7 separate regions of the Homo sapiens genome follow, and all the other regions are linked to region 4. Evidence: promoter capture Hi-C in 16 types of primary human blood cells and fetal thymus (Javierre and others, 2016). All regions are on one chromosome and are shown on one strand. Each heading gives the region's core, a stretch centred on a gene start or on the middle of the fragment in contact. The rest is flanking DNA. Distances are from core to core; before and after follow the strand shown.

Evidence for each region. The method cuts DNA at HindIII sites, captures the fragments that hold promoters and counts their contacts. A CHiCAGO score of 5 or more calls a contact.
Region 1: a contact is called between a fragment that was not itself captured here and the fragment with the promoter of CADM3 in region 4, in 5 of 17 cell types (endothelial precursors, megakaryocytes, erythroblasts and 2 more). The highest score is 9.9, in endothelial precursors.
Region 2: a contact is called between a fragment that was not itself captured here and the fragment with the promoter of CADM3 in region 4, in 2 of 17 cell types (naive CD8 T cells and endothelial precursors). The highest score is 5.2, in naive CD8 T cells.
Region 3: a fragment that was not itself captured here is called in contact with the fragment with the promoter of CADM3 in region 4 in 1 of 17 cell types (endothelial precursors); the score reaches 5.2 in endothelial precursors.
Region 5: a fragment that was not itself captured here is called in contact with the fragment with the promoter of CADM3 in region 4 in 3 of 17 cell types (M2 macrophages, megakaryocytes and endothelial precursors); the score reaches 8.4 in M2 macrophages.
Region 6: the fragment with the promoter of SLAMF8 here is called in contact with the fragment with the promoter of CADM3 in region 4 in 2 of 17 cell types (endothelial precursors and M2 macrophages); the score reaches 5.7 in endothelial precursors.
Region 7: a fragment that was not itself captured here is called in contact with the fragment with the promoter of CADM3 in region 4 in 1 of 17 cell types (endothelial precursors); the score reaches 7.8 in endothelial precursors.

Annotation. Positions count from the first base shown.
Region 1 is chr1:159,804,017-159,807,661 of GRCh38, forward strand. FCRL6 (Fc receptor like 6) reads left to right here. Exons shown (of 10, transcript NM_001004310.3): 2 at 2,580-2,600. LOC105371464 (a long non-coding RNA gene) reads right to left here and starts at 3,014. Exons shown (of 3, transcript XR_922195.2): 1 at 1-3,014. The HindIII fragment of the contact is 3,499 bases long and covers 316-3,645 here.
Region 2 is chr1:159,965,404-159,968,909 of GRCh38, forward strand. The region is part of intron 1 of LINC01133 (long intergenic non-protein coding RNA 1133); the gene reads left to right. It also overlaps a transcript of SLAMF9 not described here. Among named protein-coding and RNA genes, the nearest start is that of LINC01133, 5.9 kb to the left of the region's middle. The HindIII fragment of the contact is 3,020 bases long and covers 1-2,788 here.
Region 3 is chr1:159,874,973-159,878,749 of GRCh38, forward strand. It overlaps CFAP45 (cilia and flagella associated protein 45), which reads right to left. Exons shown (of 12, transcript NM_012337.3): 9 at 2,377-2,490; 10 at 1,584-1,777. Among named protein-coding and RNA genes, the nearest start is that of VSIG8, 14 kb to the left of the region's middle. The HindIII fragment of the contact is 1,898 bases long and covers 1,507-3,404 here.
Region 4 is chr1:159,169,870-159,173,523 of GRCh38, forward strand. CADM3 (cell adhesion molecule 3) reads left to right here and starts at 1,746. Exons shown (of 9, transcript NM_001127173.3): 1 at 1,746-1,984. The coding sequence starts at 1,897. RefSeq lists an enhancer at 883-1,383. The HindIII fragment of the contact is 6,448 bases long and covers 1-2,765 here.
Region 5 is chr1:159,755,848-159,759,545 of GRCh38, forward strand. It overlaps the pseudogene RPL27P2. Among named protein-coding and RNA genes, the nearest start is that of DUSP23, 23 kb to the right of the region's middle. The HindIII fragment of the contact is 1,789 bases long and covers 1,352-3,140 here.
Region 6 is chr1:159,825,614-159,829,112 of GRCh38, forward strand. It overlaps SLAMF8 (SLAM family member 8), which reads left to right and starts at 1,260. Exons shown (of 5, transcript NM_020125.3): 1 at 1,260-1,325. The coding sequence starts at 1,286. The HindIII fragment of the contact is 24,464 bases long and covers 1-3,499 here.
Region 7 is chr1:159,927,999-159,931,658 of GRCh38, forward strand. IGSF9 (immunoglobulin superfamily member 9) reads right to left here. Exons shown (of 21, transcript NM_001135050.2): 12 at 3,455-3,605; 13 at 3,140-3,263; 14 at 2,694-2,869; 15 at 2,191-2,441; 16 at 1,893-1,977; 17 at 1,640-1,816; 18 at 1,353-1,395; 19 at 160-1,020. Among named protein-coding and RNA genes, the nearest start is that of TAGLN2, 4.3 kb to the left of the region's middle. The HindIII fragment of the contact is 2,658 bases long and covers 26-2,683 here.

The sequences.
Region 1 (3,645 bases), core at 815-3,314, 630 kb after region 4:
GAATGTGAAATATGTATTTAAAGTTTGGGAAATTAGGCTTAATTTTCTTCTGAGCTGAACATTAGCCAACTTCCCTCCTACCACTGGAGGCTGCTCCCCGCATTCTCACACAGCGTCCATAGGAGGTGTCATGGGGTCCCATACAGCCCTCCCAGCAATGTGACTGCTGCAGCTTGGCACTGCAGCCTGTTCCACAGTGCTAGAGCTCAGTGGTGAGAGAGTTCTTCATGTTGAGCCGAAATCTGCCTCCATGATCCCTCTAGTTTCCATTTCTGTCCTATAAAGTAACTCAGAATAAGTCTCCCCCTTCTTTTAAGCTTAGCCCACCAAGTATTTTGTGTCTTTCCTCTGTTGCATCTTTCCCAGATAAATATCTCCCGATCCCTCAGAAACTTTAAGAGGAAATTATCCTGCTCCTAGAGTTGGCAGGGGCTCCTGCCTTCATTTTTCGGAATTCTATTACGCAACTTGGTTTGACCATAGCTCTTGGCCACTTCATGATACTGTCACCTCATCTTCAGCCTATAGCTAATGGAGGTCCCTGGGCCCTCATTGCAGGAACTGCTGTAAGCAGGTGTCACCCCCTGTGTATGTTCCCAGTTGGCTGCTGTTTTGATTGCAGAAACCAATTTTGTAATCCCACCTCCAAGATCTTGCAGTACCATGGGGAGCAAGTCATTGAGATTTGGGGACAGGAGCTCATTTTAAGTGCATCTATGCTTCCTGAGTGCCTTCTGTCTTGTTTTTGGCTTCAGTAGTCTCAACCCTGTTTGTTTAGCACTTTGTAGCTGCACAATTGTTTTCCAGTGAGGTGGGGAAGGGAAGGAAGACATAACTACAGAGTAAGGTCTCTGTCACTCTGAGGTCAGGCCTTCTTTCTGCTTTCAGTTAATGTAGTAACCACTTTCCCAGGCAGTGGGTCAACATAACCTTCACAACTACACTGTAAGAAAAAAATGACTATTATCATTTCTATTATGTGATATGACAGAATGAGATATTGAAGGCTCTTGGAACTTAGACAACTTGTTCAAGGTCGTACAGAAAGAGGCAAATTCATGACTCAAGTCCAGGTCATCTGATTCCAAATCCTGCATGCTTTCCACTACACCGAGCTCATAGATGGGGGTTAGGGGTGGAGATGGAGGGATGATAAAGAAGAGACTCATTGTTCTGCACACTCTTGAGAGCATATGACTGAGCTGACCCTGAGCTGAATAGAGAATTGAGCTGAAAGATTCCACCTGTGTCCAAAGTAGTGTAGAAAGCAAAGATGATACCATGTGACAGAGCCAAACATCTGCTCTTAGAGGGTTTTCACCCACCCTTCCCAAGGCCATTCTTGCATTTTTTTTTTGGTGTTATGTAAAATACCTAGGACATGCCAGCAATGCAGGACACAAGTAAATGTATGAGGATTGGCTGGACTGACTGCACTCAGCCCTACATTCATTCATTGTTTCACACCTTGCCCCAAAGTCCAGAAGATTCTTCACTGCTTCATATCCAGCTATGACCTTCAATTTCAGGTCTTCCATTGTTTGGGCTATTCAAACCTATCTAACCATATCTGTCATCATTTTGTGAGTTGGCCCCTCTTCCCAGGTCACCTGTTCTCACACATTCACTCATTTAAAAACATGAATGTAGCACATCCAAGATGCAAGCATGATGTGGGATGCATCCAGTTTGTTTGTAGTTCTCTCATTCATCCATGCTGCCTGATAATGTCTCACATCCTTTAATGATTACTCTTTCAGGGGACTTATCCTCCTCAGTCTGGTCACTTCCATACCCTTTTTGCCAGAGCTCTGTGGAGAGATGGGACCACAAGAATCAGGTCCTGCCCTTGCTATATGGGTTCTCCTGTAGATGTTGGAGGTAGGACCCTCAGGCACATTCGTACAAGAGTCTAGTCCTATGTTTTCTACTTTTTGCTTCCCACCTCGTACAATGGGATGCAAAGGAAAACATTCATGCATTTATTCAGCAGATGCTTACTGAACACAGACTATGTTCCAGGCACAGGTCTTGGGCATAGAAAATATAGCAATGAGTAAAATAAGCAGAGTCCCTGCTACTATGGAGCTTATATTCTAGCCAGAGAGAGAGGTGATAACATGTAGGCAATTTAATGAATAAGATAAATTCAAATAGTGATAAGTGTTTTGAAGATAATACAATGGGGCATTGTTTTAGTGATTGGGGAAAATTCTTTTGATTGGAGTCCCAGGGAAGACCTGTTTGAGAAGGCAACATTTGAACTGTGATAGGGCAAAGAGTTCTAGGGAGTACGTCCAGCACAAACGTTGAGTAGTCAAGTGGCCGGGTGGTTGGGTGGTTGGGTGGTTGGATGGTTGGATGGTTGGGTGGTTGGATGGCTGATGGCTGGGTTGTTTGGTGGTTGAGTGGTTATGTGGTTGGATGGTTGGATGGCTGTGTGGATGGGTGGCTAGGAGGTTTGGTGGCCGGGTGGTTGGTTGAATGGGTGTAAGTCCCCATTGCTGAAGTGACAGGCCTCCTTGTCAGAAAGCTCTTTTTGCTACTTAACCTAATTGTGTTACTTTGTTCTCTTGCAGTTCCCTGTGTTGGGAAAACTGGTAAGTTGTGTCCATGTCTCTTCTAATTCAAAGTATGTCTATGGGCCAAAACTTACTGGATGGGAACAGGACAGTGCCATGGGGTCCCCCAGAAACATCTGCAGAGCAGCACCAGACTAGGCCCCTTCCTCAGGAGTCTTGGCCAGTTCCTAGGAAAAGGAGGAACTTGGAACTCCACTAGTCTAAGGCCAAGGGTAGTCCTAGGGTGACACAAGCCTCAGCAGTGGGACTCTAGGCCTCTATCTTATACCCTTAAAAGTGTCTGTGGCCTCTGTCTTCTCTTCAAGTGGTTCTGGAGCTCTTATATTCTCAACTCAACAAGACTGGGACTCCCTTCCTTCCTTTTATGTTCAGAGAAGCAGCAGGCACCTTTTTCTGCTGATCAGTCTTCCTTCCTTCCTCAGATCCCCTTCCCTCCAGCCCATTCTGTGACACTGACCTCCATGGAGCTTTCTGTCAAACAGGAAAAAATTCTGATCTATGAAATCTTGACCTCCAAGGACATATTCTGTGATTCCAGGGGGAGATAATTCAAACCAATACTTAGTGCTGTTAGAAAAAGCAGTAGTGGAAGCAAGACCTGCTGTTCGGTAATGCGGTGAGCATCGTTACTTCCAGGGTGAGGAGAGTGGGTCCTAAGGATCCAGAAGATCCAGGCAAGAGCAGGATGTGCTGGGGCTCCCTAACTGTTACTCCTCATTAGTCTCAGGCCATCAGGCCTGCTCAGAAGGCTGTCTGGGAATGGGGGTGTCTGGCTTATCAAAGAGATGATACAGGCTGGGGACAGATACAGGCTGGGGACAGATACAGACTGGGGACAGGCTCAGCCTGCCCTGCAGGTGATGGTGGATCCCTGGGAGCTCTTCTCCTGCTCACATCAGTGCACAGAATACATTTTAGGAATAGAGACAGAGAGAACAGATCCCTTCCATAAGAGTGGTGGAAGATGAAACGCCCTGCTGAGGGTAGAGATGGAGGCTGGGCCTAAGGAAGCCCAATGAGGAAGACAGGAGGGAGAGAACTCAGGCTGTGGCACCTCCAACAT
Region 2 (3,506 bases), core at 29-2,528, 800 kb after region 4:
GTCAACAGAAGGCTGCCTAGGGAACATGGTGCTAGAGGAAAAGAGATGAGCTAAGATTCAACACTCTGATGACAATCTATGGTATCCATCTCCAGCGAGGCTCCTTCTGTAAGGTTGCCTGGATACTGCATCTGGCTGACAGAGTCCCCAGACAGAACTTGAATAGGCACTGCCAGGGTGTGTACTTCTATGACTCTCCTTTTGCAATGGGCCCACACCACCCACCTCATTTTTCTAATAAGGTATGTACCTTCATTTGATTATTTGTGTCATTAGGGATAATTTGCATACCTCATCTTTGATCCACTATGTATTGTCTTAATACTTTGGAACTCAGAAGGCAATCTCATTTTCTCCTTTTCCAGGGCTATTCACCTTCCTTAGTCCCATATTAAAATGTTTCTTTTTAAAAAGATATAAATTATGCTTAATTAACAAATCATAATTATATTACATTTATATAGTACAATGTGATGTTTTGATATATGTCTACAATTCCAAGTGATTAAATCAAGCTAATTAACATATCTATCACTTCACTTCCTTGATATTTTTGTGGTGATATATTTGAAATTACACTTTTAGTTATTTTGAAATATACAACATATTATTATTGATTACAGTCATCCTGCTGTGCAGTAGATCTCAAAACTTATTCCTCTTGTTTAGCTGAAACTTTGTACCCTCAGACCAGTAATTCCCCATTCCTTCACTCCTCCTCTGCCCACTGCCTCTGGGATCCATTATTCTTCTACAAATTCAACTTTTTTTATATTCCACATCTAAATAAGATCATGCAGTATTTACCTTTCTGTGCCTGGCTTATTTCACTTAGCATAGTATCCTCTAGATTCATTTGTGTTGTCCAAAATGACAGAATTTCATTCTTTCTAAAGGCTGATTAGTATTCCATTGTGTGTATACACCTCATTTTCTTTATCTATTTATCCACTGATGAACATTTAGATTGAGTCCACATCTTAGCTATTGTACATAATGCTATAATAAACATGGGAGTTCATGTTAAAGGGATATCCTTTCAACACAGCCATTTTAATTCCTTTGGATATATTCTCAGAAGTGGGATAGTTGGATCATATGGAAGTTACATTTTTAGTTTTTTGAGGAACCTCCATACTGTTTTCCATAATAGCTGTACTAATTTACACTCCTACTAACAGTGTACAAGTGTTCCCTTTTTTCTGTGTCTTCATCAACACATGTTATCTTTTATCATTTTGATAAAAGCCATTCTAACAGGTGTGAGGTGATACCTCATTGTGGTTTTAATTTGCATTTACTTAGTGATTACTGATCCTGAGCATTTTTTAATGAACCTGTTAGCCATTTGTATGCCTTCTTTTGAGAAGTGTCTGTTCTAGTCATTTGCCCATTTTTTAATCATTACTTGTTTTCTTGCTAATGAGTTGTTTGGATTCCTCATATATTTTGGATTTTAACTCCTTATCAGATGTATAGTTTGAAAATATTTTTTCCCATTCTGTGGGTCTGTTCACTTTGTTGTTTTTGTTTTTTTGTTTGTTTTTGTTTTTGTTTTGCTATGCATAAACTTTTTAGTTTTATGCAATCCCATTTGTTTATTTTTGCTTTTGTTACCTGAGGTGTCAGAGTCAAATCCAAAAAATTCTTGTCCAAACCAATGTAATGAGGGTTTCCCCTTATGCTTTCTTCTAGTAGTTTTATAGTGTCAAGTCTTACATTAAAGTCTTTCCCGTTTTGAGTTTTTTTTATTATACTTTAACTTCTAGGGTACATGTGTACAATGTGCAGGTTTGTTACACAGGTATACATGTGCCATGTTGGTTTGCTGCACCCATCAACTTGTCTTACATTTGTTATTTCTCCTAATGCTATCCCTCCCTTGAGTTGATTTTTATGCATGGTGTAAGATAAAGATCTAATTTCATTCTTCTGAATGTGGATAACCAGTTTTCCCACACCATTTATTGAATAGATTGTCCTTTCCTCATTGTAGGCTTTTGGAACCTTTGTCAAAAATCAATCAACTATAAATGCATTGGTTTATTTCTGTTCCATTGGTTGATGGATCTGTTTTTATGCCAGTATTTGATTACAATTTCCTTATAATATACTTTAAAGTCAGGTCGTGTGATGCCTCCAGCTTTGTTATTTTTGCTCAAAATTGTTTTGGCCATTTGTGGTCTTTTGTTGTTCCCTACGAACTTAAGGATTGTTTTTCTATTTCGCGAAGAGTGGCATTGGAATTTTAATAGAGATTGCCTTGAATCTGTAGATTGTTTTGGGTTAATATGGACATTATAACAGTATTAACTTTTCCAATCCATGAACATGGAATATCTTGCCGTTTATGTGTGTTTTCATTCATTTCTTTCATTAGTATTTTATAGTTTTCAGTATATAAGTCTTTCACCTCCTTAGTTAAATTTACATCTAACTATTTTATTTTATCTTTTGTTGCTATTGTAAATGGGATCGTTCTTAATTTTCTTTTTGGATAGCTTGTTATTAACATACAGAAATGCCACTAATTTTTATATGTTGATTTTGTATCCTGCAACTTTATGGAATTTGTTTATCAGTTCTAAGGGTTTTTGATTTTTAGAGTTTTTTATATATATAAGATCATTTCATCAGCAAATGAAGACAATTTCACTTCTTCCTTTACTATTAAGATGGCTTTTATTTCTTTCTCTTGAATAATTGCTCTGGCTAGGACTTCAAGAACTACGTTGAAAACGAGTAGTGGAAGTGGGCATCCTTGTTGTGTTTCTGATATTTGAAGAAAAGCTTTCAACTTTTCTCCATTGAGTATAATATCAGCTGTGGGCTTGTTGTATATGGATTTTACTGTGTTGAGGTACATTCTCTCATACTTACTCTTTTGAGAACTGTTCACACCACCCCATCTCATTTTTGTAATTCTTTAGGGATAGCGTGCATGCCTCATCTCTGATGTACCAAGTATTTACTTAGCACCTTGAGACTCAGAAGGCAATCTCATTTTCTCTTTTCTCAGGGCTACTCACTCCTCTCCTTCCCATTAAATATTTTCCATTATCACATGCAAAATCGTCTCTCTTCCCTATCAAGTTCCCCAAATACCCTGCCAGTTACAATGGTTTTGTGGCACCCATGGTACTCTTCTCTCTTGGTCAAATCCTTCTTTGTAGGGGAGAGAGGGACTGTCTGGGATTCTGACCTTGAACATTGAAGGTGGCTCGGAGTTTGAGTCATTGGATTGTGAGGCAGGATTTCCTATGTCTGAGAGGTTTCTTCTCTGAGAGGAAAGAAGCCTGGTAGCAGCACACCAACAATGGAGACATTTTCTTCTAGTCTATGGAAATGGTTAAGAAGTAGGGAAGGCCCAGGCACGGTGGCTCACGCCTGTAATCTCAATACTTTGGGAGGCCAAGGCAGGTGGATCACCTGAGGTCAGGAGTTCGAAACCAGCCTGGCCAACATGGTGAAACCTCATTTCTACTAAAAAAAACAAAAATCAGCCA
Region 3 (3,777 bases), core at 1,206-3,705, 710 kb after region 4:
TGAGGCAGAGAAAGTTGGATTTGGGCTGTGGCAGAGATGCTTCTGAGTAAAGACACCAAACATGGTGGTCACATGGCCCTGGAGACACTAGGCCTAGATACTAACCTACAACAATAGGTGAAGTTGAACTTCTCCAAAAAGGCTGGTCTAGCTTTAATAACTGGCTAGTGCATATGCTTCAGGCAAATGATGCAAAGGAAAGATAAATGGGTCGGCAGCAAAAGTAGGACTTAAATTTCATTTCATTAATATTTATTAGTGCCTGTTAACAGCAACACAGATGTCCAAGGGCATAGAGGCCAGGGAGGAGAGAGGAGACATCTGGAAGGCAGTCTGTAGCCCAAGGGCAGAATCTTGGGGGGCATTTAGGAAGCTACTTTCTTCACTAGGTGTCCAGTGACCATGGCACAACCCTGGGGGCAGAGAAAATTACAGAGCCAAAGGGTATCATGGCAGGGGGGACATGCTGGGGCCTGCAGTCCAATAAAAGGCCAAAAATCTGGCTCTCGTAAGGATAGAGGCTCCCGAAGACCTGCTCTGCCTCTAACTAGGGGTCTGGGTAGCCTGGTCTGGCATGCCACTAACTACCCATTGCCAAGAGGAAGGACTTAGAGCATATGAACCAAGAAAGTGATGCTATACTGTTTAATCTCTACTTATCTGAGCATAATGTCTATAATTTTGTATCCCTTCAATTCGAATTTTGCTTGGCTTGTTTCCTTTTGAAAAATTCTAATGTTGTAGAGTCTGAACCAGAGCAAAAAGAGAGTCATTCCCAGTTAGACCAGGAGAACAGCCCCAGGGACCAGGTCTGACTGGTGGAAAACAGAGCAGAGAGGGAAACCAATGGGAGCTGTGACTGTTGACTGCTTTTGGGGAGGGAGCAGAACAGTGAGAGATGTGAACATTTAGCTTCCACTTATGTGTTGAAATTATCATTGAGCCAAAAGGGAAAACAAAAGTAAAAGGATAAATAGCTACCAAGGAAGAAAGATGGATTGATGTAGGTGCAGTCCATCCAAACACAAATCTCTAATACCTTTCCTGTGGAATGGGCAAGAGCAGTGTTTTGTTAATTGCTAATGTCCTCCATGGCATCCAGCACAGAGCCCTGCATTTCTGTGCTTAATATATATTTGTCAAATGAACGGCAAACAGCTCCCTTAAAGTCCTGCTCCAGTGACTCACAACCCTTAGTGTCTGAAGTTCTTTTCTCTATCTTTCCTAAACCACTCCTCTTGCAGTTTCATCCCCAATTTGCAGGGGCACATGGGTCAGAGGGCAGCAGAATGGACCAGAATTTTACCTTTATTTATACTTTTACTGTTCCAGGGTAAATAATCCCAGTCATCACCAATTCCTTAAGCAATTCCAGGTGCTATCTCCCAATTCTCTAATCACATAATTCTTGGCTCAAGTGATTTTTAAAAGTTTCAATCATCCATCTAGTTATAATGATCCCACCAACCCAGACAAGATCGACGAGCATCTGTTAACATGCCAGAAAGCTTCTCTCTATCCAATATGGACCATCCCTGCTACAGTACAAGGAAAGGAATCCAAGGTTCCCAGGCCCCTCCTACCGAAGAATCCTCTCGAACTCATCCCGGTCCCGTTGCACCTGAACAGCCAGAGCGTGCTCCTTGAAAGCCACCTGTTCGAGCCGACTTTTTCGCAGCTCAGCCTCTGTTTCCATCTTCTTCCGCGCATTTTCCTTTTCCTTTCTGCGCCACTCTCTGTCTGCAACCTCCTGGTTGCGCTTGGCCCGCAAGGCATCCTGGGAATGTTGGCAGGGGACCAGTGAGGGCACAAAATAGCTGGAAGTACAGACCAAGTGGCTTTAAGAAGATACCTACTTACAGACTCTGACAGTCTGCTTTGAAAAGCATCATGAATTTCTCTGGCAGCTAGTTATTCTAGGAAAAGATAAATGGAATCCTGTCATCAAACCTTTGGGTTAGAAGATAACCTGAGGGGTCATCTTGTCCTTCCAACCCACTCATCCCAGTTCTTTCCCTGTACCTCAGACATCTCCAGGCAGTCTTGAAATTGCTTCTAATTTTAAAAACTGCTAATGATGGAGATACCACAGGTTCCCCTGGTGACACATTTCATTGGTTGGTTAAGGTTGAAAGTTCTTCTTTATGGAGCAGCGAAAAACTTTCTCTTGAACCTTAAGCACAGGCTGCACTGCCCAATCCCTGCTGACACAGGCCCTGGGAGCAGGCCACCCCTTCCTTCTCAGACTACTGAAGTCTAGGTAACTTGCATCCTTTCCTCCGCATCTCCACCCTCAAGGCCATTCTACAGGCTGTCAAAGGGATGGATAGGCAAGGGAGTGGGAAAAGTAGAGGGAAGTCGAGACTAAGCAGGTACCTGTTCTGCCTGGTAATCCTGGGCCTTCTCCTGCATGGCCCTCAAGCGTGCGATCTCCTTCTCTTTCTCCCTCCGGATTCTCTCCTGCTCAGCCTCAAACTCTGCTTCTCGAGCCTGCCGGAAGGAAAGGCCTTGTAGAATAGTTGCCATTGCCCCAGCCTTGCAGAGAGAAACAAAACCCCTACAACAGACTTTCCAATATCTCCCCTACCACTTCCTGACTCCTTTTAAAATAGGACAAAATAAGGCCAGGTGCCGTGGCTCATGCCTATAATCCTAGCACTTTGGGAGGTTGAGGCAGGAGGACCACTTGAGCCCAGGAGTTCATGACCAGCCTAGGCCACAGAGAAAGACTCTGTCTCTACTAGAAATCTAAAAATTAGCCAGGCATGGTGGCATGTGCCTATAGTCCCAGCTACTCGGGAAGCTGAGATAGGAGGACTGCTTGAACCTGGGAAGTCGAGGATGCAGTGAATCATGATTGCATTACTGCATTCCCCTGGGCAACAGAGTAAGACCTTGTCTCAAAATAAATAAATAAATAAATAAATAAATAAGGTAAAATGAATTTAGCAATGCATGAATATAAAACAATTAGCATTTATAAAATGCTTTATTGTTTACAAAACACTTTCCTATGTGTTATCCTGGAGAGCCCTCACAACATTTCCTGAGACAGATATTATAGATGAGGAAACGGATGGTCAGAAAGATCAAGGGTCTTGCCCAAGATTGCACAGGAAGTAAACTACCTAACAGGATTTGAACACAGGTACCCTGACCCTGGCTTTCACACTCCTTCCACTATGTCATAGACAATTTTCAAGTTGCAAGGCTACTGGGCCAAGAAACAACTGGTCCTGTGCCTGTCTTGTAAAGTACAGCAGGTGGAGGTTATCTCATTAGTCCCTGGGCAAAGAGCCAACCATGCTTTGGGCAGTCCCACAGTGGTTACCAGATACTTAAAGAATGAACCACCAAAATTAGCTCCCTTTCCACCTCTCTGAAAAAACAGGTATATCCTTAAAAGCTTCCCAAGCCCGCTTCCCAACGCCATTCTTGAGCAATCGTAAGATGAATGGTGCAGGTTGGAGGCAAATGTGACATTTATAAAGAATCTTCCCGGCCAGGCATGGTGGCTCATGCCTGTAATCCCAGCACTTTGGGAGGCTGAGGCAGGCAGATCATGACGTAAAGAGATCAAACCAATCCAGGCCAACATGGTGAAACAGTGTCTATACTAAAAATACAAAAATTAGCTGAGCATGGTGGCGCATGCCTGTAGTCCCAGCTACTCGGGAGGCTGAGGCAGGAGAATCTCTTGAACCCGGAAGGCAGAGGTTGCTGCAGTGAGCTGAGATCGCACCACTGCACTCCAGCCTAGTGACAGAGCAAGACTAC
Region 4 (3,654 bases), core at 496-2,995:
CTGACAATCCAGAAGGATTTCCCTGGGGAATATTTCCCCTGACCTCTCCATCATTGCTTGTAATTTATATAGGACTTTACTGGTAACCAAGTACTTTCCACACCCCTGCCCGTGAGTTTCTGGGTGACAGAGACATTAACTACATCACAGAGGGCTGAAAAACTCTGTTTTCAAGAAGGAAAGATTACCCAAACATTAAGGATTAGCCCAGTGAGACAGTCATTAGCAGACAAAGAGAGCTGGTCTAAGAGTTAGAAGACATGCACCCAAATCCCTCATCTAGGGATAAAATATTAGCCTCACAGGATTGGAAGACACTTTAAAATCATATTGTTGCACATCCCAGCCAACACTTGTGTCTTCTACTATTAACTGTCAGTGTAACCTTGGTTCAGTTAGCCTCCTTTGAGCCTCAGTTGTACCTATATAATTAAGGGGTTGGAATAGACATTTTCTAAGAATTCTTAGATATCTAATATCATTTTATTCTAGAATTCTAACATTTAGAAATGTATTTCCAAAAGCTAAGTTTCAGTAAAACTGATTTAGAAAGATCCCTTTCTGAGATATATCAAGACTCGGAGATACTCAGTCACAAAGAATGGCAAACACCAGGGACTTGGGACACTTAAGCCAAGACCAAGTACAAACACCCTGCATCTCTCATCTTGTTATATCTGGCCTCAGGATTGACAGCAGCTTTGGTCACAGACGCAGGGGTCCTTGGAGGGTTTCTAGATCAGACTCTTCATCCATGAACCTTACTAACTCAAACTTGAGATGGGCGAGATCTGCAAAAGAACAAGAAAGAAGAAAACGTATTGGAGAAAGGGACCGGGGGTTAAAGAGATGTAATAGGGAGGGTTAAGAAAGAAAACGACTGAGTTGCTTTGTTAGGCTGCCAGATTGGGCAAGAGTCTGGGGTGAAATCATGTTTTCAGAGGGTGAGTTATTTCCTTGACATGAGATTGAGGGAGACATTGGTTCCCAAGGCCTGGGAGTTTGTTGGAAAATGCCTTTCAAGGGAGATTGCCTGGGGCCACGAATTGTTGCTGGACAGATAACTATGGGCTCTTGGGTAAGAGGAATCAGGGATGTTAGGGTTTAGGAAAATGATGAGAGTTAGCAATTATCCACTGGACAGGTGTCCCTGGGTACACTGTTGATAGGGGGACCCCAGGGCTTAAGGCCAGGGGCCACAAATTGTTGCTGGACAGATAACTATGGGCTCTTGGGTAAGAGGAATTAGGGATGTTAGCGTTTAGGAGAAGGCTGAGAGTTAGTAGTTATCCACTGGAGAGATGTCCCTGGGTACATGGTTGGTGGGGGACCCCAGGGCTTAAGGGGATCCCCAGTTGCCAAAGGATGGAGGGCGGAGCTGGAGGACCTCAGGCTAGTGAGCACGCCCTTGCCCAGGCCTGCAGTGGCTGCACTCGCCAGCTGGCCCATGGCCCTGTCCGACTCCCCTCCCTCCACCCCAAGCCTAAGAGGGGTGAGCGCAGGGTCCCACTGCTGAGCCAGCTCCCTCCCTCTGATCCACACCCGAGCCCGGCTGGCCGAGCTCCCGGGGGAGAGGGTGGAAGGCACCACGAAGGCAAGGAGGGGGTGTGGGAGGCGGGGGGTGTGGGGAATGCGGCAGCCTGGCCCCCCCGCGACCAGCCCAGCCCCCCGCCAAACCCCCTCCACCTCCAACCAAATGGTTTGCTCCGAGCGCCCTATTTAATCCCCGCGACTGCAGCAGCGCCGGCTCCCTCCCGGTCCCCACCTCGGCCCCGGGCTCCGAAGCGGCTCGGGGGCGCCCTTTCGGTCAACATCGTAGTCCACCCCCTCCCCATCCCCAGCCCCCGGGGATTCAGGCTCGCCAGCGCCCAGCCAGGGAGCCGGCCGGGAAGCGCGATGGGGGCCCCAGCCGCCTCGCTCCTGCTCCTGCTCCTGCTGTTCGCCTGCTGCTGGGCGCCCGGCGGGGCCAACCTCTCCCAGGACGGTGAGTGAGGGAGGGGGCGGCGCCTGGGGAGGTGGGGAGTGACCCGAGGCGGGGGCTGGGATCGGGAGTCTCGCGGAAGGAGCCTGTTGGCTTTGTTTGGAACCGGGGTTAAAGTCACCAGCCGCTGCTAATACCCTTGTGTCTGTCTCTGAGCATCCGTGTCTCTGTGGACTGTGGGTGTGCCGGTGTGTGCACCCTTCTGTGTACACCACTGAGCGTGTGTCTGCGTGTGCACCGGGGTTTGGCTCTCGGGGCTGATGTCCGTTAGGAGCAGCCCGGGGTCTGGATGTGTTGCTGTCCGTGTGCGCGCGCGTCTGTGTTGGTGTCTGGCTCTGCGTTTCTGTGTCAGTATCTGTGTGTATGTCTGTGTCAGTGTGTGTTGGGGGCGGAGTGAGATTTGTCGCTGTTTCAGTCAGGGCGTGTGTCGGGTGTTTGTGTATGTATGTCTGTAGGGGTTGGGTAGCCAGTGCAATCCCCCAAACTGCTGTATGCAAACATTTCTGCTCCCCCGCCCGTCCCCCACCACCCGCGGCGCAGCTCCGAGTGGGCAGAGAAGGGGGCCTGGGTGAGGCTGCTGAAGGGGGCGTGGGCAAAGAAGAGGGCCCTTATCCTTGGAGCAAAACAACAACACAGGGCGGAGGGGGCCCAGGATGGCAATATCCCTGGCAGTGGTAGAAGCTGGGAAAAGAAATCCGACAGGAGCAGAGGCGGGGTGGGGGTAGGGGGGAGCGCAAAAGAAAGAATCAAGATATTTGGGGAGGAGGATGCATGAGAAACCCAAAGCTTTCCTGGGCTAAGCACTGATTTTCCCAAATTTGGGATGGGGTAGCATACCTAGCCCCTTTGCCCCAGTCTGGAACTCAAACCTTCGCTGGTTCCTAATGGTAGAGAGATGAAGGAAGGGAGTCGGGGGAGAAAGGAGGCGGGGCCAGGGGTGAGGGGACTTGGGGAAGAGCCCCTCCCGCCCTGGGCCGGGCTATGTAGGTCAGCGCTGTGGGGGCACCTCAGCTTTCTTAAAGGCTACTAACGGTTAGTGGGATGCCAGAGGGGCAGCCTGTAGGGAAACCCGGAAGGGGTCCACAGCTCCGAGCCTCAGGTCCCTGAGGAGGGAGGGCAGGCTGTGAAGAGACTGAAGGAATGCATCCTCCTCCCCCCACCGCCCTGTCGGAAGAGGAGGAGGGCTGGGATGGAGGAAGGGGGAGAGGGAACAGGACCTCTGTGGAGCAAAGGGAAGTGGGGAGAGTGAAGGGGGAGGGTGGTGGCTATGCCCGGCCAGATGCCAACGAAAAACAGAAAGAACCGCAGGGGAGGAGAAAGGGGAGGTGGCTCCTGGGCGATGGACCCAGTGGCCAGCAGGGATGGGCACAGGGCGGGGCGGGGGTGGAGAGGGGAGGGGTTGAAACTGGGAAGGATGATGTAGAGAATTTCATCTGAGGAAAACAGGCGAAGAGCCAGGGTGCTGGAGGAATAATCGCTCCACCTCGCCTGACCTCCCCCATCCCTGTCTCCATCGTGATAAAGGAGCTTCCCCTGGTATGGGGACCCTGGGGATCCCCTCCCTATAGTTGGCTGGCTGGCTTACTCCTTCTGCCCTCTACCCATCAAACTCCCCAAAGGGAGTTCCCGCCCTAGTCACCACAGAGACAGCAGCCTCTCCTTTCCCCTACGTG
Region 5 (3,698 bases), core at 996-3,495, 590 kb after region 4:
CTGCCTCTCATCTTTGGACCTTGCTCAAGAGCACAAATGAATTTCTACTCCTAAGACCAGACATAAACACTAATCACTAATACATGCTCATCCAAAGATCTAGGATAATTTGCTTTAGTTACCTGTGCCTCAGTTTTCTCCTCCGTAAAAGTAGGAGAGCAATATTCACCTCAATGAATTTTTATGAAGATTAGATAAGACATGTTTGTGAAAGTAAGTTATCGCCTGTACAGCATTGTACAACACTAACATAGCAACTATGATTATTGTTGATTTACACTGTTGGAAACACTCTATGGAAAACAGAAGAGAAGTTGCATTGAGTCGGGACACCATGGTTCATCCGTCTGAGCTCCTGCCTTCTGTGGGTTTTCTAAGCATAGAAGAATCAGGCAGAATGGCATTGAATTCTGCTGTAATCAGATATTGATTTTCTTCCTAACTGAGAAAGGAGGATTATTTAAACTTTCATTTATAGGAAACTGGCAGGAACCTGTTTAAATGGCCCAAGTAAGTTTTCACCTCTTTAGCAATATCCTACCCATGTGATCAGAGGTTTCCCTATTTCAAGAGGTAATTGCAGAATTTCAGGAAAGCCACCTATTACTAATTGTAACAAATCCATCAATCTCTACAAAGAACAACAGACCTGTCCCTCCAGAGCCCCACTCTTAGGCTTTGCTGGGCTTACTGCTCCATGGATCACCAGGCTCCTGTGGTCACAAGGAGGCTGTAAGAAATGCAAGGCCATCTAAGAGGAAGTTGAGCATGCTGCTGTGTTCCTCAGGGATGTCCTGAAATGCCCCCTGTTTGCAGTGTTGTGAAATGTTGTAGATTCTCTTCCAGAATTTTCTCCTCCATACCAAAGTCTAAAAACTATTTGTTGATAAAGGTTTTAGGCAATTACTTCAGAACATAGCTCCATGTGTTGGGTTTTCTGAGCAGTCAGCTATGTAGAAGCTTCAGTTAGCATTCTTTCTCTCTCTCTCTCTCTCTATCTCTCTCTCTCTCTCTCTCTCTCATCCTTCCCATCCACATTTGCAGGTAGCATGCCCTTGGCAGCGTTGATCCCATAAACAGAATAGTAAGCAACTACTTGCCTGGTGTAATTTGAGATGTGGCACAATCCCCCTGCTCAAAATATCATCCCCACCAAATGCCACAGGGCCTAAAATTCCCAGTATTCAACTCACGGCAGCTAATCTTCTCTTGCTTCACCCCATCATCTCTCCTAATACCTGCACGTGTGAAGCATGTCCATCCTTCCGGGCCTAACTCAACATCACTTTTTCCTGAAGCTTTTGTGATTGCCCAGTTGGAAGTGATCTCTCATTCCTCTGAACATTCAAAAAGCTTCACTTGTGCCGCTTTTATGTTACATATTACTTTATATTTAAACACATGTACTATGTCCCACCAGGCATAATCTGGAGATTCAATTCCTCTGCTGACTCTTATTTATCTTTGTACCACCATCCCATCCTCAAGTAACCAGACCCAGAGCTGACAGTTAATAAAGAATCAGTATCTGACCAATGGGTGCTATATGGGTGAATGAGGAGTAAGACACAGCTTCTCCTGGGCTGAGATTTTGCTGCTCACTAGCTGTGTATACTTCAGCAGTCACTTCAGTTTTCAGAGCCTTATTGTCTTCCTATAAAATAAGGTCATTGAAGAGTTATAAAATTCCAGAGCTCTCTCAGCCATCATTGCTAATCTACTGGATGATCTTACAGCTCACACTGGTTCAGCAAAAGCCCAATATTATTTGCATTCACTTTTGGAAATGGCTTGACAAAATATATACTGTATTAAGGTCTTTAAAAAGGAAAAAGGTAAATTTTTAAAAAACAGTAAGATAAGGCCAAATAAAAAGCAAACACACAGAAATAAATTATTGATGGTCCTATTTACTTACGAAGTAGGACATAAATTTAGCTTTGAGCTTCATAGCAACCAAAGCAAAAATGTATTAAAGTAAAAGTCTATTGATTGCTCAAGAAAATACAGATTTTCCTGTTACTAAATTCAAAAGAAATTGATGTAGTAAACTTTGTACTCAAAAATCCCAACAATGAATATGCCAGAAAGTTTCATAGAACTATTTCCTGCAGTATTCTTTTACAAGAGTGTTCCAGTTATCTATCGCTGCACAACACCAAAATAGTGGCTTAAAGTGACAGCATTGTATATTATTATCTTACTGGGGATAGAGGGGCTAAGCTAAGCAATTCTCACTTACAGTCTCTTACAGAAATGTAGTCACAAAGTGACTGGGTCCGAAGTAACCTGGAGCCTAAGTTAGGAAGATTCAAACAGCTGGAGGCTAGAACAGTTGGTCCTCTTCAGATACCTCTCGAGGTCCCTCCATGTGACTCCAGCATGGCAGTGTTAGAGCAGCTAGAACTCTTACATGAAAGCTCAAGTGCTGAGAGGGAGACAACCAAGCCAACTTTAGCACCTTTTATGAGCTAGCCTCAAAAATCACATAGTATCACTTCTAACACATCCTATTTGCTAGAATCAAGCCACGAAGACCAACCTATATCCAAGGGAAGGGTATTTTAGTCTCCATCTTTTGATGCGGGAGTGAGATCCAAGAAAGTGAGAATATGTTTTAAAACCATGATTAAGGAAAAAATAGAAATTTGCTATTCAATAAATGCTATTCTTTGGAAAGCCAAAGAAGAAATACTTCAGCTTGATTCAGGGATAAAATTTAGAATTACAGAGTTGTGCTGTTCAATATGGAAGCCACTGGCGTGAGTGGCTATTTAAACTTCATTAAAATTAAATAAAACATTTTCAGTACCATTATTTTGTTTTAACAGCCACATTTCAAATGCTCAATAGCCACACATGGCTAGTGACTATTAACGACGGACACACAATTACAGAACATTTCCATCAATGCAGAAAGTTCTATCGAGCAACAGTTACCTAGGATAATGAAAGAACAATATATCCTTAATAGAGGCTGAGGTGTAGGGAGCATTACTTGAGCCCACAAATTCAAGGTTACAGTGAGCTACGATCATGTCACTGCACTCCAACCTGGTGACGGAGCAAGACCTTGTCTCTAAAAAGAAAAAAAAACTATATATTCAGCTGTCAATTAGAACTGCTAAGTCTTCTAATTAAGCTTTTGGTAGGAATTGGGCAAAAGAGATGTCCAAACTGTAACATTTGACAAGACTATGAACTGCATAAAATCTGTGTTGCTAAAAAAAGATAGTCCATATGCCTTAAAAATCAACCAAGTAGGAGGTAGATTCACTTCCCTTAAATAAGACGAAGGTAGGCCTGGGTGGTTGCTGTCAAAATGGGCAAGTTCATAAAACCTGGGAAAGTAGTGTTGGTCCAGGCCAGACACTACACCGGATGCTACTCTGGATGCAAAACCATCATCGTGAAGAACATTGATGATGGCACCTTAGAATGCCCCGTCAGCTGTTCTCTGGTGGCTGGAATTGACTGTTATCCTTGCAAGGTGACAGCTGCCATGGGCAAGAAGAGCACCCAGAGGTCAAAGACCAAGTCTTTTGTGAAAGTTTATAACTACAATCATCTCATGCCCACAAGGCACTCTGTGGATACCCCCTTGGACAAAACTGTCATCAACAAGGATGTCTTCAGAGACCCTGCTCTTAAACACAAGGCCCAAAGGAAGGCCAAAGTCAAAATCAAAGAGAGGTAAA
Region 6 (3,499 bases), core at 10-2,509, 660 kb after region 4:
TGGAGGGCAAAAACCTTATCCCAAAATCCTCCTGCTCACCACCCACCCCCACCCCATCCTATATGCCTAGTTCCTGGCTGAGTCCAAAGCTCAGTGTCCAGTTTGATTGACAGGCGAGAGGCTGTGCAGGACCAGATACGATGAGCCACACTCCAGACTAGCAGGAATTTTCCTCAGGGGCAACACGTCCTCTAAAAACCTTCACTGGCAAGAAACCAAGAAACTTGAAGTGAGAAGAGAAACAGGATGAGGAGGGGATAACTGTGGCAAAATAGACCACACTTCAAAGGCTGAGGTTCAAGTTCCAGCTCTGCCTCTCTGTGAGCTCTGCAAGGGGCCTAACCTCACTCTGGTTTTCACATTTTCCCATTTCTAACCAGGTAACAAGATGATCCTCTCAGAGGAGAGTTGCAAGGCTTACATAAAGCCAGATGTGTAGCCATGTCTAGAATGTACTCACTCACTTAACAAATACTCATGAAACATCTGTAATGTGCCAAGCACTGAGGGCAACACAGAAGGGAACAAAAGACTGGCTAAACAGTCTGTGAAAACCAGAAAACTGTCATCAACAACACAGCAAGAGTAAAGAGGGAGGTGTGGGCATGCACAGGACACAAGGAGAGGGCCTCTCACCTGCCTGTGGTCAGGAAGCCTGGAAGGATGTCCTCGCCGACTGCACAGCCATGTTCTGTTTGCAAGGATAGAGGGAGCAGCATGCCTAGTCGGGGTGGTGGGGAAAGTACAACACAGGGAAGTGTGAAATCAGTAGTTCTGAGAAGGAGGCCTTCTGGCTTGGGATGGCTGGAGGGCAGAATGACTGTGGGCGACCAGCCTGGAGAAGAAGGCCTGACTCAGGAGGGCCTGCATGCAGAGCAGAGTTAGTCCTCATCCTCAGGTCCACGGGAGGCCACAGAAGCATTTTAAGCTAGAATGAGGATGACAGATAGTAGTGAGGCAGGCTGAGATGCAGGAAGGCCAGCGAGATCCAGCAAGGAGGATGTGGCTTGTGTGGGGGCTGTTGTCGCCACGTGTTAGCCAACCATGTGCATGTGAAAGAGGCTGACTTACAAGAATCTGCTCCTGTAAGCCCAGAGAGGCCCAGGGACAACTTCCACTTTATTCTGGATGTTTTCACTTTTGGGACATCCTGTTCTGAGTCAAGATTCCTCCTTCTGAACATGGGACTTTCCAGAAGGACCACAGCTCCTCCCGTGCATCCACTCGGCCTGGGAGGTTCTGGATTTTGGCTGTCGAGGGAGTTTGCCTGCCTCTCCAGAGAAAGATGGTCATGAGGCCCCTGTGGAGTCTGCTTCTCTGGGAAGGTAAGTGGGGCAGGCAGATAGCCTGTCCTCGGAGAGCTGAAGGCCCCTCCCCAGCTGCCTATGCCAGACGTCTGGGCAGGGATCCCTCGACCTGGGTGAGAACCCAGAAGCTGAGGGTGGGTAGGAAAGACTAGAACAAGCTCTTGGGCAACATTTTAAGCTAGGCAGATACAAAGAGATGCAGGGTCCTGGGAGGGAGGAGGTGGCAGCTTGAGGGGTATTCTTATCTGTGAGACATGAGCTGTTTTGTGGCCCAGAGCAGTAAAAACGGAGCCAGTGGGTGATACTGCTGGTTTGGAGAGAAAGTCGGCTGTGAGAATGGTGAGGACCCGGCAGTGTTAGCATGCAGAAACTCTGCAGAGTTTGAGGAGAGTAGCAGAGGGCAGGGCAGAGCAGGGTTCCCCACAATCAGCAGAGTGTGTTTTCAACAGCCTGTGGGGGAGCTGAGGTCCCTCCCTACAGGCCTTTATAAGGGGAGGCAAGTACTAAGTAGGGATGAGAGAGGCTAAATGTGGCCCACGTGGACTTAGGGGTGGCCGACGGTGGTGTGATGTTGGGATGGCTGATACACGGGGTCTCCTCCACACCGGGCGATCCCTCTATCCATCTGATGCCTGAGTTCCCTTCCTTGGTCAACAAGCAGCCAACATGACATGGGTCAACACTGCCGGGCCATGGATGAGGGTTTATGGGGTGCAGCAAAGATTAAGATGATATTGTTTACATCAGAGGCTCATAGGGACTTTGGGTTGCTTTGTTTCATCTCCTTGCCTGAGTTCCTGGCCCTGAGAGCTCCAAAGCCTGCAGATTTCTTCAATATTTCTAAACATGTGCAGGAAATCACACCTTAACCTCAAAAAAGGCCTTGGTCTGTTTGGTGAGACAAAAATAATTTGCCTTTTTTTTTTTTCTTTGAGACGGAGTCTTGCTCTGTCACCCAGGCTGGAATGCAATGGTGCATCTCAGCTCACTGTAACCTCTGCCTCCTGGGTTCAAGCGATTCTCCTGTCTCAGCCTCCTGAGTAGCTGGGATTACAGGTCACTGCCACTAAACCCGGCTAATGTTTGTATTTTTAGTAGAGACAGGGTTTCATCATGTTGACCAGGCTGGTCTCAAACTCCTGACCTCAAGTGATCCGCCCTCCTCAGCCTCCCAAAGTGCTGGAATTACAGGCATGAGCCACCACACCCAGCCCAAAAATAATTTTTCAAATGGCCCTTAATGATCAAAGATCTGTGTGACTGACCTGGTACAGACCCCTTATTTTTCAGTGGTACTGAAGCCTGGGGCAGGGTGATGTGTGGAAGGGCACACAGCTGATCTGTGGCAGCACCAGGAGGAGCAGGTAGGAGCAGCTAGGTCTTGGCTGACATCCAGTGCAATTCTCTTTGTGTGTTACATTCCTGCTCTGCATTAACACTGAAGTCATCTCCAGTGTGAGAGGAGGTTGTTGGGCCTGGAGGACAGTGAGGCAGAGGGGGACCGGAATTATCATGGCCGACTGAGCAACCATCCAGATCATGTCTCATTGACCAAAACTTCATCACCTCTTATTCTTCCCTACACCCTGTGCCAGCGACAGGCATAGGGTCAGTCCTCAGCAGGGTAGGTCATTTATTCAATACCATTTACTAGGCTTCTCCCACAGTCTGTTCTTAAACAGTGGTGGGCACTGGAAGCAAACGATGGGGAGAAAGAGCTCACGGTCTAGTGGGAGATGCTGACTCATAAACAGGCAATAAGAATAGAGGGATAAGGGTAGTCAGCATGGTGGCCCCAGGCCACTGTGAGAACACAAGAGAGAATATGTAACCTCTCTTGGTTACATTACCTATGAGGGATAGGGGAGGTCGGAGGAGGCAGTGATGCTACAAGAGTGGGCAGAAATTAGTCAGCAAAGGAGTCAGGGGGGCACTTCAAGGAGAAGCGTCTCCCATACACGTCTGACTCAAATATAGTCCCCCAAAACAGCATCTTGCTTTCTCACCCCCTGTCTGTTTCTCCTCCTGTTCTGGATCACAGAGAATAACATCCAGTGGATCCCAAGGACCTGGGAGCCGTCCTCGACTCCTTTTTCTCCTTCACTCCCCAGAGCTAATCTATTACCAAATCCTACTGATTACACACCATCTTCGTGTTTCTCAATTCCTCCCACTTCTTCCCATCCCGGTTG
Region 7 (3,660 bases), core at 105-2,604, 760 kb after region 4:
TGAAAAATCCCTGGACCTCAGCAAAAGCTTCTAAAAGGGACAAGTTTTCCCGTTCCCAGGGTGGGAGTGGAGCAGAGAAGGTGCAGGGTATTGGGAGAGGGGTGAGAGGTCTGGGGTGGGACTGAGGCGGAGGCAGGGATGGGCAGGGACTGCTCTCACCTCTTGCTGACTGTCACCACATGCTCCCTTCGGGGCCATCTCTCAGGGCCACTGGCCCAGCTGCTGGTGTCTCCTGGAGCAGGGCTGAGGTAGCTGCCTCCTGCAGAGGGGGCTGTGGAGGGGGGCCGCAGGAACGAAGCGCTGCCTCGCCCACTGCTCTGGCTGGTGAGGCTGCCTCGAGGGGCAGCAGGGAGAAGGCCTGGCAGCAGCCGCTCCCTCAGTGTCCAGTCAGCCAGGGCTGTGTAAGGGGGCTCTGCAGTGGCCCCAGCCCCTACCACAGCCCCAGGAAGTGATTCCCTGGGGGATACAGGAGGGGTTTCTGGAGAACGAAGGAAAGATGAGGTGGGACAGCGCCGGGTATCCATGTAATCTGGGGGTGCAGCAGGGCTGGGCTCCTCAAGCGGGGGCCAGTCCCCATCCACATTCATCTCTCGGAAGAAGGGCAGGCTCAGGTACTGGAGCAGGGGTCCAGGACCTGGCAAGGGACTGGGTGGGGCTGCTGGAGGGGGTGCCACAGGGCTGATGTCTTCAATGCAGAGGGGCTGGGGTGCCCCACTGGGGCTGCTGCTGCTACAGTCAAAGGACCGGGCCAGACGCTGGGCTGGAGTCCGAGGTTCTGCCTGCTCCCGGCCTGACCTTTCCTGGGGGGCCGCCACAGTGGGCCCCATCACAAAGCGCCCGTCTGGGCCCCGGCAAATGGGCTCCAGAGGTAAGGGTCCCCGGCTAGATGGAGGATCCGGGTGGGGGCTGGGAGTTCCGGCAGGATCCCCCCAGAGCAGACTCTGGCGCAGGCTGGGGACTGGGGATCCCTGGAGCTTCAGCTTCGCCACGCTGTCAGGACTGCCTGAGCCCAGAGCAGAGCTGGGGAAGGACAGGAGATCAGGGTCTGTGGTAGGGGCAGGTCCCCCTCCCAGGAGCCAGCGTCAGGCCTTGAGAGGTTTGGTGAACAACAGAGCAGAGCTAGGAAGAACAAGCGAGGAAAGGACCAACAAGGTGGAGGGGTGGAGGGAAGGCACAGGCCATACTGGAACGGCCTCAGGCTGGGGCCACTGCACACCCCTTCTTACCCTCTCCCACTTTTGTTCCTCCCCAACACCCAACATCCCCCTGGTAAAGATGCAAAAAAGGAAGCAGAAGATACTGGCACGTACAATGGAAAGGCAGAAGAAAGCCAAGGAGGTGGAGGCACTTACGGTGCAGCTGACTTCCCGGTCGGAGAGAAGATAAGAGGTGGATCTGGAAGGGCATGAGAATAGTAGGTGACACAGGCAAAAATCAAGGCCCTCTAGGCGGAGACTCTCTCACCCAACACCAGGCGCCCAACCCCATCCGGCTGGGAAAAGCGTAGGCAGGACCAGATGCAGGACTAAGAGAATGCACCTGGATCACACAGGAGCGAGGGCTTTTCCCCCAGGTAGGAGGGGCTTAAGGAGGCTAGGCCCAAGTGCGCAGTAGCAGGGCTGAGGGTGGAGGGACTTACCTTGGCGGAGGCGCTTGCGGCGGCGGCGGGCAGCCCTGCGCCGGTTCAGGAGGCAGCCGGCCAGGATGCTCACAAGGACGGCCACTCCCAGAAAGCAGACTCCGCCCACCACGCCGGCCAGCACGGGCTGAGGCAGGAGGCCCGGCAGCTGCGTGCGCGAAGGGTAGACCTCCAGACCTAGGCAGGGGTCCACGAGGGAGGGTCAGTGGACTCGGAGCAGCCCTGGGGCTCCTCCCTCACGCCAGGTGCTCACCGGAAGTGGAGACGTTGGCCGTGTTGCTGGGGTCGCTGACGAAGCTGCCCGCGAAGGCCACGAGGCGGAACTCGTAGAGAACATCCTGCGATGGGGATGGGGTACCAGGAGGGAGGTCAGGGCCCAGCACCGCCCAACCCAGCGGGGCGCGGAAAGACCGTGCACGTGGGACGGAAGGGTGAGGTAGGACGCAGAGGTGAAGAGCTCAAATCAAGATGAGAAGATAGAGTTTGGGGAATGGAGAAGGACGCAGGAGAGCCCCTAGGAGGCCTCTCTCTGTATCGCCTTTCGCACATACCTTGATGAGGCCTGGCACCAGCAGCTCTGTTTCTGTGCCTGCCACAGCCGGGTCCAGCACCTCCCAGCCCTGGGAGCCTTGCCGGCCTTCCAAGACGTAGCCATCCAGTCTCTTAGGGACCAGCTCTGGGGGATCCCAATGCAGGAGTACCCCCCGGGGTGTCCTCACTGCCACCAGACCCCGCGGAGGGGACAGGGGAGGCGGTATCTCTGTTGGGGGAAGCCCGGGTGCAGCTGGCGTGGTAGGAAGCCCTGCGTGGGACAGAAAGGCAGGTCAGAGCAAGGATTCCCAGCGCCCCTCCCCTGGCCTTCCACAACTCCCAGTGCCCAACTCTTCTCCCAGAACCCCTGAAGACAAGCTCAAATCATCTTCCACACACCCCTCTGGACCCCAAGCTGGCCAGCACCTCTGCCCCTTCCCACCCAGGGCCTCCCATATCCCAGCTCTCCCAGCAGCCCTTCCCCATCCTTGTCTCTGCTGTTCTGGGACGAGAAGCTTCTCACCTTCCGGAGCAGACAAGACGATTTCGCTGAAGGGACCACTCCCCAGCTTGTTCTGAGCTAGCACGCTGAACTGGTACTGGGTGTGGGGCTGCAGCCCTGGCACTAGGAGGTGAGCAGCCCCCACAGGCACTGCCAAGGACACCCAGTCATGGTGCATTCGGTCAGGACGCTTGGCCCTGGGAGACATGAGGACATGGGGGGCACCTCGTGAGCTAGGAAGACCAGAAGATCTGGGGTCCAGAGATCTAACCACCTCCCCTCTGCTCAACCATCCAAGGTCTCAGGACCTTGGCCCTGAATGCCTCAGAATCTGGAAACAGGGAAGCAGAGCCAGGACTGGTGAGGGATAGAGGGACAGAAGAAAGGGCAGAAGGCCAGATAGGTTCAAGGAGGAGAGGAAAGGAGGCAAGATTGGCACAGAGAAATGGCAGGAGCAGGTCACTCACAGTGGGGTGTACCAGACACTGAATCTCTGCAGATAACCACCATCAAAGCCAGGCTCCCAGGAGACATTGGCACCCTTGGGCAAAGCCACCACGGACACATTGGTGACAACATGAGGGCTAGTGCCTAGGCAGGGGGGAATGGAGGGATGGTGGTCAGGGCCTGAGGGAGTGTACAGAGTAGCAGGGGCCCCAGGGCCACTGACCTTCACCCATCATCATCCCAGGGGTCCCACACCCATGATCCTCTTTCTGGGCCTCCAAAAACGATTCCCAAGTAGTTTCTCCCAGCCCCTGGCCCTCTCTCCAGCCACTAACCCAGCACGTAGACGTTCGTGGAGGTGGCCACTCGGGCCACAGCATTGCTGGCACTGCATTCCCAGTGCCCGTGGGCCTCCTTGGTCAATGGTCGCAGGATGAGGCTGCTGTTGCTGTCCACCTGGGCCTGGCCTTGCAGCCCCCGGCCCACCTACAGAACCACTGGTGAGCCCTGAGGACACACGCAGCCACCCCTCACCAAAGGC